Linked DNA regions of Homo sapiens: region 1 is linked to region 2. Evidence: promoter capture Hi-C in human tissues and cell types (Jung and others, 2019). All regions are on one chromosome and are shown on one strand. Each heading gives the region's core, a stretch centred on a gene start or on the middle of the fragment in contact. The rest is flanking DNA. Distances are from core to core; before and after follow the strand shown.

Region 1 (6,577 bases), core at 3,560-6,059, 490 kb after region 2:
TCATTTTAGGAGATTTAGGGGAAGGAGAGCCAGTAGAGTGCAGAGGTTAAGGGCCTCAGCTGGGCTTCCTAAATTCAAATCCAAGCTCTGCCACTCCCCTGATGTGTGACGTTGGGTGAGCAACTTAACGTTGTTGTTCTCAGTTTCCCCATCTGCAAACTCTATTATGGGGATTAAATGAGTGCTTGTAGAGTTCTGTTCCATGTCTGGCACACTGCAGGCACATGTCAAATAAGTTAACCTCCGTCAGAGGGTCACAGAGGGTCCCTGGTTCCCCTCTGCTCCCAGCCCTGGGATGGCCTAATGGCTTATGCTGCCCCCAGCTGGCCACTCTGGGAACTTTGGGCTGAGGCCCCCTCTCTGAGTCCGGAACCTCGCCTCCATTGGGTCTGAACCTATTACGTTCCTTTGTCTGCCTTTATTTCCTGCCTCCGTCTCCTCCTCTTGACCAATCCAATCACTTTTGTTTATGATCCATCCAATCCCATCCAACCACTCCAGGCCCATCCAGTCATTTTGCAGCCTAGTGTTATTTCCACCCTACATCCCTGCAGGGCAGGGCCTGGAACTTTCAAAAGATTGATGTTGCCTTTGTCCCATTTAATTCTCTGGGAAACCATTATTATTAATTATTATTATTATTATCTGTTGTCGTTGTTATTGTTGTTGTTTTTGAGACAGAGCCTCACTCTGTTGCCCAGGCTGGAGTACAGTGGCGCGATCTCGGCTCACTGCAGCCTCTGGCTCCTGGGTTCAAGCGATTCCCCTGCCTCAGCCTCCCGAGTAGCTGGGATTACAGGCGCCCGCCACCACGCCCAGCTGATTTTTAAACTTTTAGTAGAGATAGGGTTTCACCATGTTGGCCAGGCTGGTTTTGAACTCCTGACCTCAGGTGATCTGCCCGCCTTGGCCTCCCAAAGTGCTGGGATTACAGACTTGAGCCACCGCACCTGGCAGAAACCATTATTTTTTATCCTCATTTTATAGGCGATAAGCCAAGTTTGCCCTCATCGATTTCTCTGCCCCAGGCAGCCTGACAGCTACAATTAAGTTCAATAAGAGGTCCAATCTCAGAGCCTTTGCACACACCCTGCCCTCGGCCAGGAATGTCCTTCCTCCAATTCCCTGTGCTGAGCGAGATCCTCCTTGCTCGCTGGACCCTTGACCTTGGCAAAGAAGGAGCCGCAGAGAAAAAAGGGCAAGAGAAGATACAGACAGCACCGGCATAATTAAGTGGAGGGATGAGAAGGCTCAAATCAATAGCTTTGGAATTAGCTGAGCTGTTGGCTGGAAGAAAATGGGGCACCAGAGCTTAAAAATTAATTGGATCCGAGTGCTCAATGGTGAACGTTGAAATGCCCCTTTCATCATTATGATTATTATCATCATCATTATTATTATTTTGAGATGGGGTCTCACTCTGTTGCACCCAGGCTGAAGTGCAGTGGCGTGATCTCGGCTCACTGCAGCCTCTGCCTTTGAGGTTCAAGTGATTCTCCTGCTTCAGCCTCCCAAGTAGCTGGGACTGACTACAGGCAGGCGCCACCACGCCTAGCTAATTTTTTTTTGTATTTTTAGTAGAGACGGGGTTTCACCATGTTGACCAGACTGGTCTGCAGCTCCTGACCTCAGGTGATCCGTCCACCTTGGCCTCCCAAAGTGCTGGGATTACAGGCGTGAGCCACCACACCTAACAGAAACGTCCCCTTTCAGATCAGCGCGAGATGGGCAAGGGTGTGGATCCAAACTACGTTCATTGAATGAATGAACGATTACACAGACGTCTGCATTGCAGAAACGGCCTATTCTGAGAGTTACTCCAGACCCACTTCACGTCCCAGCCTTGTCCCCCTCCCCCGCCCCGCTGCCTGCTGCCCCAAACTCTCAGGAACTCAGTCTCCCCATCTATAAATGAGCACTTGACTGTAATCCCAGCACTTTGGGAGGCCGAGGCGGGTGGATCACGAGGTCAGGAGATTGAGACCATCCTAGCCAACACGGTGAAACCCCATCTCTACTAAAATACAAAAAAAAAAAAAAAAAAATTAGCTGGGCATGGTAGTCCCAGCTACTCGGGAGGCTGAGGCAGGGGAATTGCTTGAACCCAGGAGGCAGAGGTTGCAGTGAGCCAAGATTGCGCCACTGCACTCCAGCCTAGTGACAGAGTGATACTCCATCTCAAATAATAAATAAATAAATAAATAAATAAATAAATAAATAGGCACTTGAGAGAAGAAGAGGAGCACCTATGGTAAGCCCAAGGACACTGAATTCCATGTTCCCTGCAGGTAGCATTCCTGCTGACCTGATAACAGGGACTGGCGTTGGGCATGGACAGAGTTGTAAAGGGTGGACCCCTGGGTGTGATGTCTTGGCTTTGATAGTCCTGGAAGAGCAGGGTGTCCCTTGACCTTGTATCTATGCCCTTGCCCCAAATAGCCACACCTCATTGCGTGTTGTCGACTATCCCATTGGTGTCTCCAGCCTGCATCTCCCCAGAGCTCCAGGCCTCAGTATCCAATGGCATTGGATATTTCCACTGAGTGCCTTGCAGGCATTTCACACTCACAAGGCCAAAACCTGGCTCTTAGAATAGTTACTCGCCCTGAGATCTGCCCCTTCTCCATCCTGTTGGTGCCTCCACTATCACACAGTAGCCTGGGTCCTGATTCCTGGATACGCTCTTTATTTTATTTTATTTTATTTTTTTTGAGATGGAGTCTTGCTCTGTTGCCCAGGCTGGAGTGCAGTGGCGCCATCTCGGCTCACTGCAAGCTCCACCTCCCAGGCTCATGCCATTTTCCCACCTCAGCCTCGTGAGTAGCTGGGACTACAGGCGCCCGCCACCATGCCTGGCTAATTGTTTGTATTTTTAGTAGAGACGGGGTTTCACTGTGTTAGCCAGGATGGTCTCGATCTCCTGACCTCGTGATCCACCTGCCTCGGCCTCCCAAAGTGCTGGGATTACAAGCGTGAGCCACCGCGCCCGGCCCTCTTTATTTTATTTTTTTAAGAGACAGGGTCAGCCGAGCGTGGTAGCTCATGCCTGTAATCCTAGCACCTTGGGAGGCTGAGGCAGGCAGATCACTTGAGGTCAAGAGTTCAAAACCAGCCTGGCCAACATGGTGAAAACCTGTCTCTACTAAAAATACAAAAAACTAGTGGGGCGTGGTGGCGGGTGCCTGTAATCCCAGCTACTCAGGAGGCTGAGGTACAAGAATCGCTTGAACCTAGGAGGCGGAGGTTGCAGTGAGCCGAGATTGTGCCACTGCACTCCAGCCTGGGCAACAGAGGGAGACTCTGTCTCAAACAAACAAAACAAAACAAACAAACTAAAAAAGAGACAGAGTCTCACTCTGTCACCTAGACCCAGGCTGGAGTGCAGTAGTGCAGTCATAGCTCACTGCAGCCTCCATCTCCTTGGCTCAGGCAGTCCTCCCACTGCAGCCTCCTGAGTAGCTGGGACTACAGGCACACACCACCATGCCCAGCTCATTTAAAAATTTTTGTAGAGATGGGGTCTCACTCTGTTGCCCAGGCTGATCTCAAAATCCTGGTCTCCCTCAAGGAATCCTCCCGCCTCGGCCTCCCAAAGTGCTGGGATTACAGACATAAGCCACTGCACCTGACCTGGACTCATTCTTGTCCCTTCTCTTTCCTTACCCTGCATGTTCAGTGCATCAGCAGGTCCTGCAGTCTCCGGCTCCAGAATGAAACTGAGCCTCCCTGAGCTCCTAAGGGGCCTGCTGTATCTTGTGTGGATGCTGTCCTGGCTCCCTGCCACCTACACTCCTGCCCCCAGCCATCCTTGCTCCCCTAGGGAGCCCCAGATGGATTCTTAAAATCATAAAGCAGGCCGGGAGCGGTGGCTCACGCCTGTAATCCCAGCACTTTGAGAGGCCAAGATGGGCAGATCACGAGGTCAGGAGATCGAGACCATCCTAGCTAACATATGAAACCCCGTCTCTACTAAAAATACAAAAAAATTTAGCTGGGCGTGGTGGTGGGCACCTATAGTCCCAGCTACTTGGGAGGCTAAGGCAGGAGAATGGCGTGAACCCGGGAGGCAGAGCTTGCAGTGAGCCGAGATCGCGCCACTGCACTCCAGCCTGGGCGACAGAGCGAGACTCCATCTCAAAAAAAAAAAAATCATAAAGCAGATCACGCCCTTCCTCTGCTCAAAGCCCTCCCGTGGCTCCCTATTACCCTCATAGTATAGCCCACACTCTTTCCTGTGATCAGGAGGCCTGGCATAGTCTGTATCCCTGCTGACCTGCCCCCCTCCCCGCCCCCGACTCCATCCCTCCCTCACTCCCTCCACCACGTACTGACTCACTCATGTTTATGGAGTGCCCACAGTGTTCTGATTCCGTTTTCCGTTCAAGGTGGTCACTCCCTGCCAGTGCAGTTGGGGGCATCAGAGAGAGGTCTGGGGGTGGGGAGACACGGGTTAGAACAAGACCTCAGTGGCCACTTAGGCTTGGGCTGGAGTCTCAGCCCTGTCTTGCAGAGCTGAACCCCCATCTCTTCTTCCTTCTCAGTCACTCTCTCTCCATCTCTCTGTCTGTCCATCTCAGAGTAAATTCCAGAGCCTTCTCCATCCCCTGCCCTGAGGCCCTGAATGACCTTCCCCCGCAGTTCCCTTTCTCTCTATTCTTCTTCTTCTTCTTCTTCTTCTTTTTTTTTTTTTTGAAACAGAGTCTCGCTGTTTTGCCCAGGCTGGAGTGCAGTGGCACAATCTCTGTTCACTGCAACTTCTGCCTCCCAGGCTCAAGTGATTCTCCTGCCTCAGCTTCTGGAGTACCTGGGACTACAGGCGTGCACCACCACCCCTGTCTAATTTTTGTAATTTTTTAGTGGAGACGGGGTTTCACCATGTTGGGCAGGCTGCTCTCGAACTCCTGACCTCAGGTTATCTGCCCGCCTTGGCCTCCCAAAGTGCTGGGATTACAGGGGTGAGTCACCATGTCCGGTCCCCTTTCTCTCTTTTCCTCTCTCCCCCTCACTCATTCACACAAGCCTTCTCGGCTTCTCCAACACACCAGGCACAGCCTCACCTCAGGGCCTTTGCACCTGTCCTGTGAATGCCTGTCCCTCATCTCTCTCCCTGCCTGGCTCCACCTCTTTTACATCTTGGCTCTCGTGTTGCCTCCTCCGGGAAGCAGATTCCCCCACCCCTTCCATCCCTCTCTGTCACCAGACCCTTCCCATCGCCTCATAATCGTCCTTGACTTCCTCTGCCTGCTTGTTCATTCCCACTTCCCATGCTAGGGACAATGTCGCCTGGCAGAACCTGGTGACAAGCTTAGTTCCCAGCATCCAGATGGCACCAGCAAACGCTGGCTGAACAAATTGACGTCTCATCGGTATCCGTCTACTCCATGGAGCTTTGCACAGTGCCAGGAACATCAAATGCACCCCGTAAGGACTGGGAATTTATCTGAAGACCAAGCAAGTTTGCCTTGGATTGGGGCTGCTAGAAAAAGCTCTGCCCAGCCGGGTGCGGGTACCTTATGCCTGTAATCCCAGCACTTTGGGAGGCCAAGGTGGGAGGATTGCTGGAGCCCAGGAGTTCAAGAGCAGACTGGGAAACCCGATGAAACCTCATCTCTACAAAAGTACAAAAAATTAGCTGGGGCCGGGCGCGGTGGCTCATGCCTGTAATCCCAGCACTTTGGGAGGCCGAAGGGGGCACATTGCCTGAGGTCAGGACTTTGAGACCAGCCTGGCCAACATGGTGAAACCCCTTCTCTACTAAAAATGCAAAAAAAATTAGCTGGGTGTGGTGGCGTGCGCCTGTAATCCCAGCTACTCGGGAGGCTGAGGCAGGGGAATTGCTTGAACCAGAGAGGTGGAGGTTGCAATGAGCCGAGATTGCGCCATTGCATTCCAGCCCGGGCGACAGAGACTCCATTTCAAAAAAAAAAAAAAAAACTTAGCTGGGCATGGTGGTGTGTACCTGCAGTCCTGGCTACTCAGGAGGCTAAGGTGGGAGGATCACCTGAGCCTGGGGAGGTCGAGGCTGCAGTGAGCCGTGATTGTGCCGCTGCACTCCAGCCTGGGCGACAGAGTGAGACACCATCTCACAAAAAGAAGAAAAAAAGCTCTTACCATTCATTCTCCATTCAAAAGCTGAGCTGGACAGATGCTGTGCCGTGAAACTCTTCTCATCTAAAGCCCAGATGTTTTCATCGCTGCTTTTGGCACCGGGGGTGGGCAGGTTTTGATAAGAGCAGGGTCCCTGGGGAAGCCCTGGAGCTCAGCAAGGCAGGAATGATGTGTCTGCATTTGCTGGCAGTGGTAGCCTCACTCTGCAGGTGGGGGGGTTGTACTTTTCACCAGCCTGTACATTATCTCCCATCACTTCTCTTTCCATTATTTTTCTTTGTGGGTTTCCTAGGGTGGTGGAGAGAAAGCATGAAATTGGAAGCCAAGAGAAGAGAGATGGAAAGACACAGAGAGTCACACAGGGTTTGCAAAGGCTCCAAATGCAGATGCACCTGGAGGGGAATGAAGTTAAGAGGGGGCCACATGGAGGTTGCAGTGAGCCGAGATCTTGTCACTGCACTTCAGTCTG
Region 2 (6,156 bases), core at 2,179-4,678:
CACCTCAGCCTCGGGAAGGGCTGAGATTACAGGTGGGAGCCACTGCGCCCAGCCAGCAGTTTCAGTTACATTATAGAGAGAGTTTAATGGCATTTCCACAGTTCAGGACCAGGGAAAGAAACACAGAGGCTGCCTGGCCCTATGTGAAACTTTTGGGGGCCGACTCCAGGCCTGAGCCTGCTCTGAGGGGATCAGTCATGTCCCCGCCTTAGTCCCAGGACCTGAGGGAGCTCTGGATTGGTGGCTTGGCCCAGAGCCAGGTGGATGGCAGTGTTGAGGGGCTGGTGCTTGAGACTGGTTGGCAGAGTGGGCCCTGTGCTGAGGATGGGACATCTTGGTCACAGGTCGCATGAGGTTCCTGCTGAGAAGGGCTAGGGGATGATCATCCATCTTCATGGGTGTGTTCCGGTTGAGGAAACTCAGTCCCAGAAGTGAGCTTGGAAAGGGCGGCTCAGCCCAATGCTCCGGAGCTGAAGTGGTGCTGGGACGTGGCTCAAGACCCGAGCTTGCTGCAGGAGCCCATTCCCCTTCTGTCAGAGGGGGTGGTCCGCCAGGAGACAGTCTTGCATCTGGTCCAGGAAGCAGACAGTTCAGTCTGCTCGGGTGTCCAGGGCCACACAGCCTGGGGGTGTCAGAGGAACTGGGCTCTGTCCACACAAGACAAGGCATCTGGTCAGAAGCCTGGCTCATCCCTCCCTGTCCCTCTACCTGCCCTTGGGCCAGAGGTCAGCCCTGCTCAACAGACTTGGCAGGGACCGGGCTGAGGTCACATCAGACAGCAGAGAAGGGTTGGGTCTTTTTGTTTGTTTGAGACGGAGTCTCGAACTGTCGCCCAGGCTGGAGTGCAGTGGCGCGATCTCGGCTCACTGCAAGCTTCGCTGCCCGGGTTCAGGCCATTCTCCGGTCTCAGCTTCCGGAGTAGCTGAGACTACAGGCGCCCGCCACCACGCCCGGCTAATTTTTTTTTTGTATTTTTAGTAGAGACAGGGTTTCACCATGTTAGCCAGGACGGTCTCGATCTCCTGACCTCGTGATCCGCCTGCCTCGGCCTCCCAAAGTGCTGGGATTACAGGCGTGAGCCACCGCGCCCGGCATGGGTCTTTTTTTTTTGAAACGGAGTCTCGCTCTGTCACCTAGGCTGGAGTGCAGTGGCATGATCTTGGCTCACTGCAGCCTCTGCCTCCTGGGTTCAAGCAATTCTCCTGCCTCAGCCTCTCAAGTAACTGGAATTACAGGTGCGTACCAGTAATTTTTTGTATTTTTAGTAGAGAAGGGGTTTCACCATATTGCCCAGTCTGCTCTCTAACTCCAATTTCAGGCGATCCACCCGCTTCGGCCTCCCAAAGTGCTGGGATTACAGGCATGAGCCACGGCGCTCAGCCACGGCTGGGTCTTAACTGCTAGTGAGGAGCTCTCCGCCAGCCCACTGTTGGGTGTGGGTTGTCAGGAGCACAGGAGACTCCCACCCTCCAGGGTGGCTGGCTACACTGCCACTTGGAGCTCACACGTGTAGCCCCCTGGGGAGTCCCCTGGGTGCCTGGTATGCCCTCCACACTCACCCGGTACTTCAAGTAGGACAGGTACGTGTCCCAGCCCAGCGTCAGGCCGTTGATGTAGGTGACTCGAAATTGGGGGGGCACGAAGAGGAAGTTCACGAACTGCGCAGCAGGCCACACGCACCAGTCTGCCTGCGGGGAGAGGCGGGGGATGAGGGGCGGGGCCAGAGCTGGGCGGGGGCGGAGCGGCCATCAGGGGGCGGGGCCGGACATGTGCAAGGGGCGGGTGCTCCCACCTTGTAGAATTCCCAGAACTTCTCCCGCAGCTCCTGGCAGCTCTCACCCACTGTCTGACCCTCCAGGCAGCCAAGGCCTGGGAAGCAAACCAAGAAATGAGAGTGTTAGAGGCCAGGAAGTACTGTTGAGACGACAAGATGGGCTGACGATGGAGGGGGCGGGGTTGGGCCCCTGAGAGCCCACGCCGCCCACCCCGGGCAGAGGGACAGGGACTTTCAGATGGGATGGACAGAGAATTAGGGTAGCTGGTGTAGAGACAAAACAGAGCAAGTCAGTCCCAGTGAGAGAAAGAGAGGTTATAAACATATAAACACGTGCCCCAATGGAGACACCCTGAAGTTGAGGGAGTTGTGTTACTTTTCCATCACAGACCAGGAAGCCGGGCTGGGAGGTGGAGAATGAGAGACTCCTCTATTAATACCGCTGTCTTTACCGAGCCTAGGGCTGGCACGGTTGCACCCCATTAAGTCTAGCCTCAATTTCTCTTCCTTCAGGCCTCAGAGCCTTTGCATTAGCTGTTCCCTCTGCCCGCTGGTTCCCTCTTCATGTCTCAACTGAGTGTGGTCCCCTTCTTTGGGAAATGCTCTCAACCTCCCGCCCAGGGCAGCCCCAACAGATACAGTCCTCGTCCCTCCTACACTCGCCAGCGTTCACATCGGCCGAGTCCGTCCTGTCCCCGCTGTGACCTGGCTCCTAGTCCAGGGCGACCCAAACAGGGGGCAAATTGGAAATGCACCTCTGCATCCTTCTTAACACAAAGCTGGCTCCACCCCTCCCGACCTATGAGAGGCAAAGCCTAGGCTTAGGAGGCTCCTTACCCAAGAAGTACCAGACGCCCAGCAATGGAGAGGCTACCAGCTGATCCACGAGGACCTTCTTGAGGACATTTGGGAAGCCTCGGAGGCCAGACGCAGGGAATAGGCGGTCCAGCGACAAGTACCAGTAGTGCAGGAAGGGACCCATGCTGCAGCCCACCGCAAACATGCTCGCTATAAGAGTGTAAGTCAGGGGGCTGGGTCGGGCCGGCAAGTTCCTCAGTCCATTCCCTCTCTCCCTCCCTGGCTAAGGCCTGGGTAAGCCCAATGCCATCCCGGAGCCTCAGCCTCACCGGGAAAACCGGAAGAGCCCACCCGTGCATTCTTCCACTACAAGCCCCACCAGGAGGCGCGGCTCCAGAGGCTCCTGGGTAGTGGGCAGAGACCTCCGGGGGTTGGGAGGTGATGGAGACCCAGAGCTGCGGGGAGACAGACACCCGGGGAGAGGCGCGGTCAGGGCAAGGGTCCTGCGGGGGACTGAGGCCACGGGTCAGGGGTCACGGCCCGCAGTCGGGTGTCGGGATCAAAGGTCGCCCGGGGTGAAGGACTAAGCAGCGTGGCGTCCTCACCGGAGCGCCGTGGGTCGAAAACCTGGCCGGGCCGGGCGCGGATCTCCCAGGACTGGCGCACGCCATCACCGGCCGCCATGAGCGCGCCGCAGCCCAGCGTGTTAGTGACGAGCAGCGCGCGGCCCTGGAATAGAAGCTGCCCCGCGGATAACAGGCGGCGTAGCCGGCGCCAGCCACCCCGCGCCATCGCCCTCAGGAACCAAGGAACCGGCGCGCCGCTCTGCTTTCGCCGCGCCGACCAGTCGCGAGTCACTGTCGATCCCAAATTGCCCGCCCCTCCGGCTCCCCGGCCAATCGCATAAGGATCTTCAGTCCGCAGGTCCGCCCCGAGCCGCGACGCGTTCACCAATCGCAGGCAGCCTCGGGGAGCCACATTGCCCGGCCCGAAGAGTATTGACCAATAAAAGGCAGGCGTTCTATCCCAAGGTCGAGCCCCCAACGACCTCCCGAGCTTCACGGACCAATCGGAAAAAAGAATTGCGTTACGTCCCGCATGCCGATTGGTAACGTTGCACTCTTGTTTCCCCGCCCCTTTCTGTGCCAGCCTATGGGAAACCGTCGCAGCCCCGTCCTACCGACACGCCCAGGACGGCACTGGCCAGTCGCAGACCGGCGTCACGCTGGCAAATCAGTGACCGTCGTCCCGCCTCCCGCGTTAGGGTTGGTCAATCTTAGGCAGTTACAACGCCTTCTGGCCTGGTTGCCCTACGTATTTCCAGATTCTCCTGGACTTAACCAGAAGGGATGTGATCTGTGGCCAGAAACAATTATATCCTAATTATACCGTTCCCGTAGGGAACAATTATTTTTTTTCTTTTTTTGAAATGGAGTCTCGCTCTGTCACCCAGGCTGGAGTGCGGTGGCGCGATCTCGGCTCACCGCAACCTCTCCCTCCCGGGTTCAAGCGATTCTCGTGTCGCAGCCTCCCAAACAGCTGGGATTACAGGCACGGGCCACCACGCCCAACTAATTTTGTATTTTTGGTCTAGACAGGGGTTTTGCCATGTTAGCCAGGCTGGTCTCGAACTCCTGACCTCAAGAGATCCACCCGCCTTGGCCTCCCAAGGTGCTGGGATGATGATAGGCGTGAACCACCGTAACTGGCTTAAAAAATGATTTTCAATGGAAATCCCTATGCATTCTCTACTAGAGTCGCAAACTACTGCCTGTGGGCTGTTAACTGTTGAAGGTGTGCAGGTTCTTGGCATCTTGAACAAAGAATTGGACAAAGTGCACAAACAAAGCAAGGAAAGAATGAAGCTTAACAAAAGCAGAGATTTATTGAAAACGAAAGTACACTCCGCAGGGTGGGAGCCAGTGGAGCATACGGACTCAAGAGACCTGTTTAAGAATTTTCTGGGGTTTAAATGCCCTCTAGAGGTTTTCACTGGTTACTTAATGTACGTCCTATGTAAATGAAGAGGATGAAGTAAAGTTACAAAGTCATTTACTGGATGTATGCCCTCTTTAAATGGAGAAGATATTTCCTGTCATAGCTGAATTGTTTCCATTTGATTTGGCCTTATGTTCCCTGCCTCCAGACCTATTCTCCTGCCTCAGGGCCAAATCCTGTCCCTGCCTGTTTTGTGCTGCTCATGATGAGCTAAAGGTGTTTCTTACATTTTTTAAATGGTCAGTCAAGAAGGTGGGGATTGGCCAGGCGCAGTGGCTCACGCCTGTAATCCCAAACAGTTTGGGAGGCGGAGGCAGCTGGATCACCTGAGGTCAGGAATTCAAAACCAGCCTGGCCAACATGGTAAAACCCCATCTCTATTAAAAATACAGAAATTAGCCAGGGGCGTGGTGGTGGGCGCCTGTAATCCCAGCCACTCGGGAGGCTGAGGCAGGGTAATCTCTTGAACCCGAGAGGTGGAGGTTGCAGTGAACCGAGATAGCTCCAGTCTGGGCCACAGAGCGAGACTGTCTCAAAAAAAAAAAAAAAAAAAAAAAAAAAAGGCTGTGCCTAGGGCCGTGGTCACTCACGTTTGGCTCAGAATTAACCTCTTTAAATATTTTACGGAGTTTCTTTTTTTTTTTTGAGAGAGTCTCGCTCTGTGGCCCAGGCTAGAGTGCAGTGGCGCGATCTTGGCTCACTGCAAGCTCCACCTCCCGGGTTCACGCCATTTTCCCGCCTCAGCCTGGCGAGTAGCTGGGACTACAGGTTCCCGCCACCAAACCCGGCTAATTTTTTATATTTTTAGTAGAGACAGGGTTTCACCGTGTTAGCCAGGATGGTCTCGATCTCCTGACCTCATGATCCGCCCGCCTCGGCCTCCCAAAGTGCTGGGATTACAGGCGTGAGCCACCGCGCCCGGCCCATATTTTACAGAGTTTCACTCTTTTTGTCAACAAATGGCATGATTGTGTTTCAATAAAGTTTTACTTATGGACACAAATTTGCATTTCATATAATTTTCAGGTCATAGAATAAGCCAAACGTCATTGAAACACAATCATGCCATTTGTTGGCCTGTAAAAAGTAAAACTGAAATATGGCTTTTTTTTTTTTTTGAGACGGAGTCTTACTCTGTTGCCCAGGCTGGAGTGCAGTGGCACAATATCAGCTCACAGCAACATTTGCCTTCCAGGTTCAAGCGATTCTCCTGCCTCAGCCTCATGAGTAGCTGGGATTACAGGCACCCGCCGCCATGCCTAGCTATTTTTTGTAGTTTTGTAGAGACGGGGTTTCACCATGTTACTCAGGCTGGTCTTGAACCCCTGATCTCAAATCCACCTGCCTCGGCCTCCCAAAGTGCTGGGATTACAAGAGTGAGCCACCATGCCCAGCCTACAATATGGGTTTTTACAACAAAAATTTGCCCAGTCAGAGGACACCCTTCATGGTTTTCTGATTTTTTTTTTGAGATAGAGCCTTCTTCCTTCCTTCCCCCAATTTAAAACTTTTATTTAAAGAAAGGTTTTGTTTTTTTTTCCTCTTTAGTAGAGACAGGGTCTCACTATGTTGCCCAGGCTAGCCTT

What was found. Contacts are between HindIII fragments. The study calls those that stand out against the background at their distance.
Region 1: a contact is called between a fragment that was not itself captured here and the fragment with the promoter of MPV17L2 in region 2, in 1 of the 25 tissues and cell types used here (hippocampus).

What each region holds. Positions count from the first base shown.
Region 1 is chr19:17,697,805-17,704,381 of GRCh38, reverse strand. No RefSeq gene overlaps it. Among named protein-coding and RNA genes, the nearest start is that of UNC13A, 13 kb to the right of the region's middle. RefSeq lists a silencer at 2,796-3,023. The HindIII fragment of the contact is 6,509 bases long and covers 1,555-6,577 here.
Region 2 is chr19:18,190,490-18,196,645 of GRCh38, reverse strand. MPV17L2 (MPV17 mitochondrial inner membrane protein like 2) reads right to left here and starts at 3,428. Exons shown (of 5, transcript NM_032683.3): 1 at 3,178-3,428; 2 at 2,612-2,782; 3 at 1,793-1,869; 4 at 1,560-1,688; 5 at 1-647. The coding sequence starts at 3,364. The coding sequence ends at 591. RefSeq lists an enhancer at 3,284-3,333 and a silencer at 3,724-3,903. The HindIII fragment of the contact is 8,354 bases long and covers 1-6,156 here.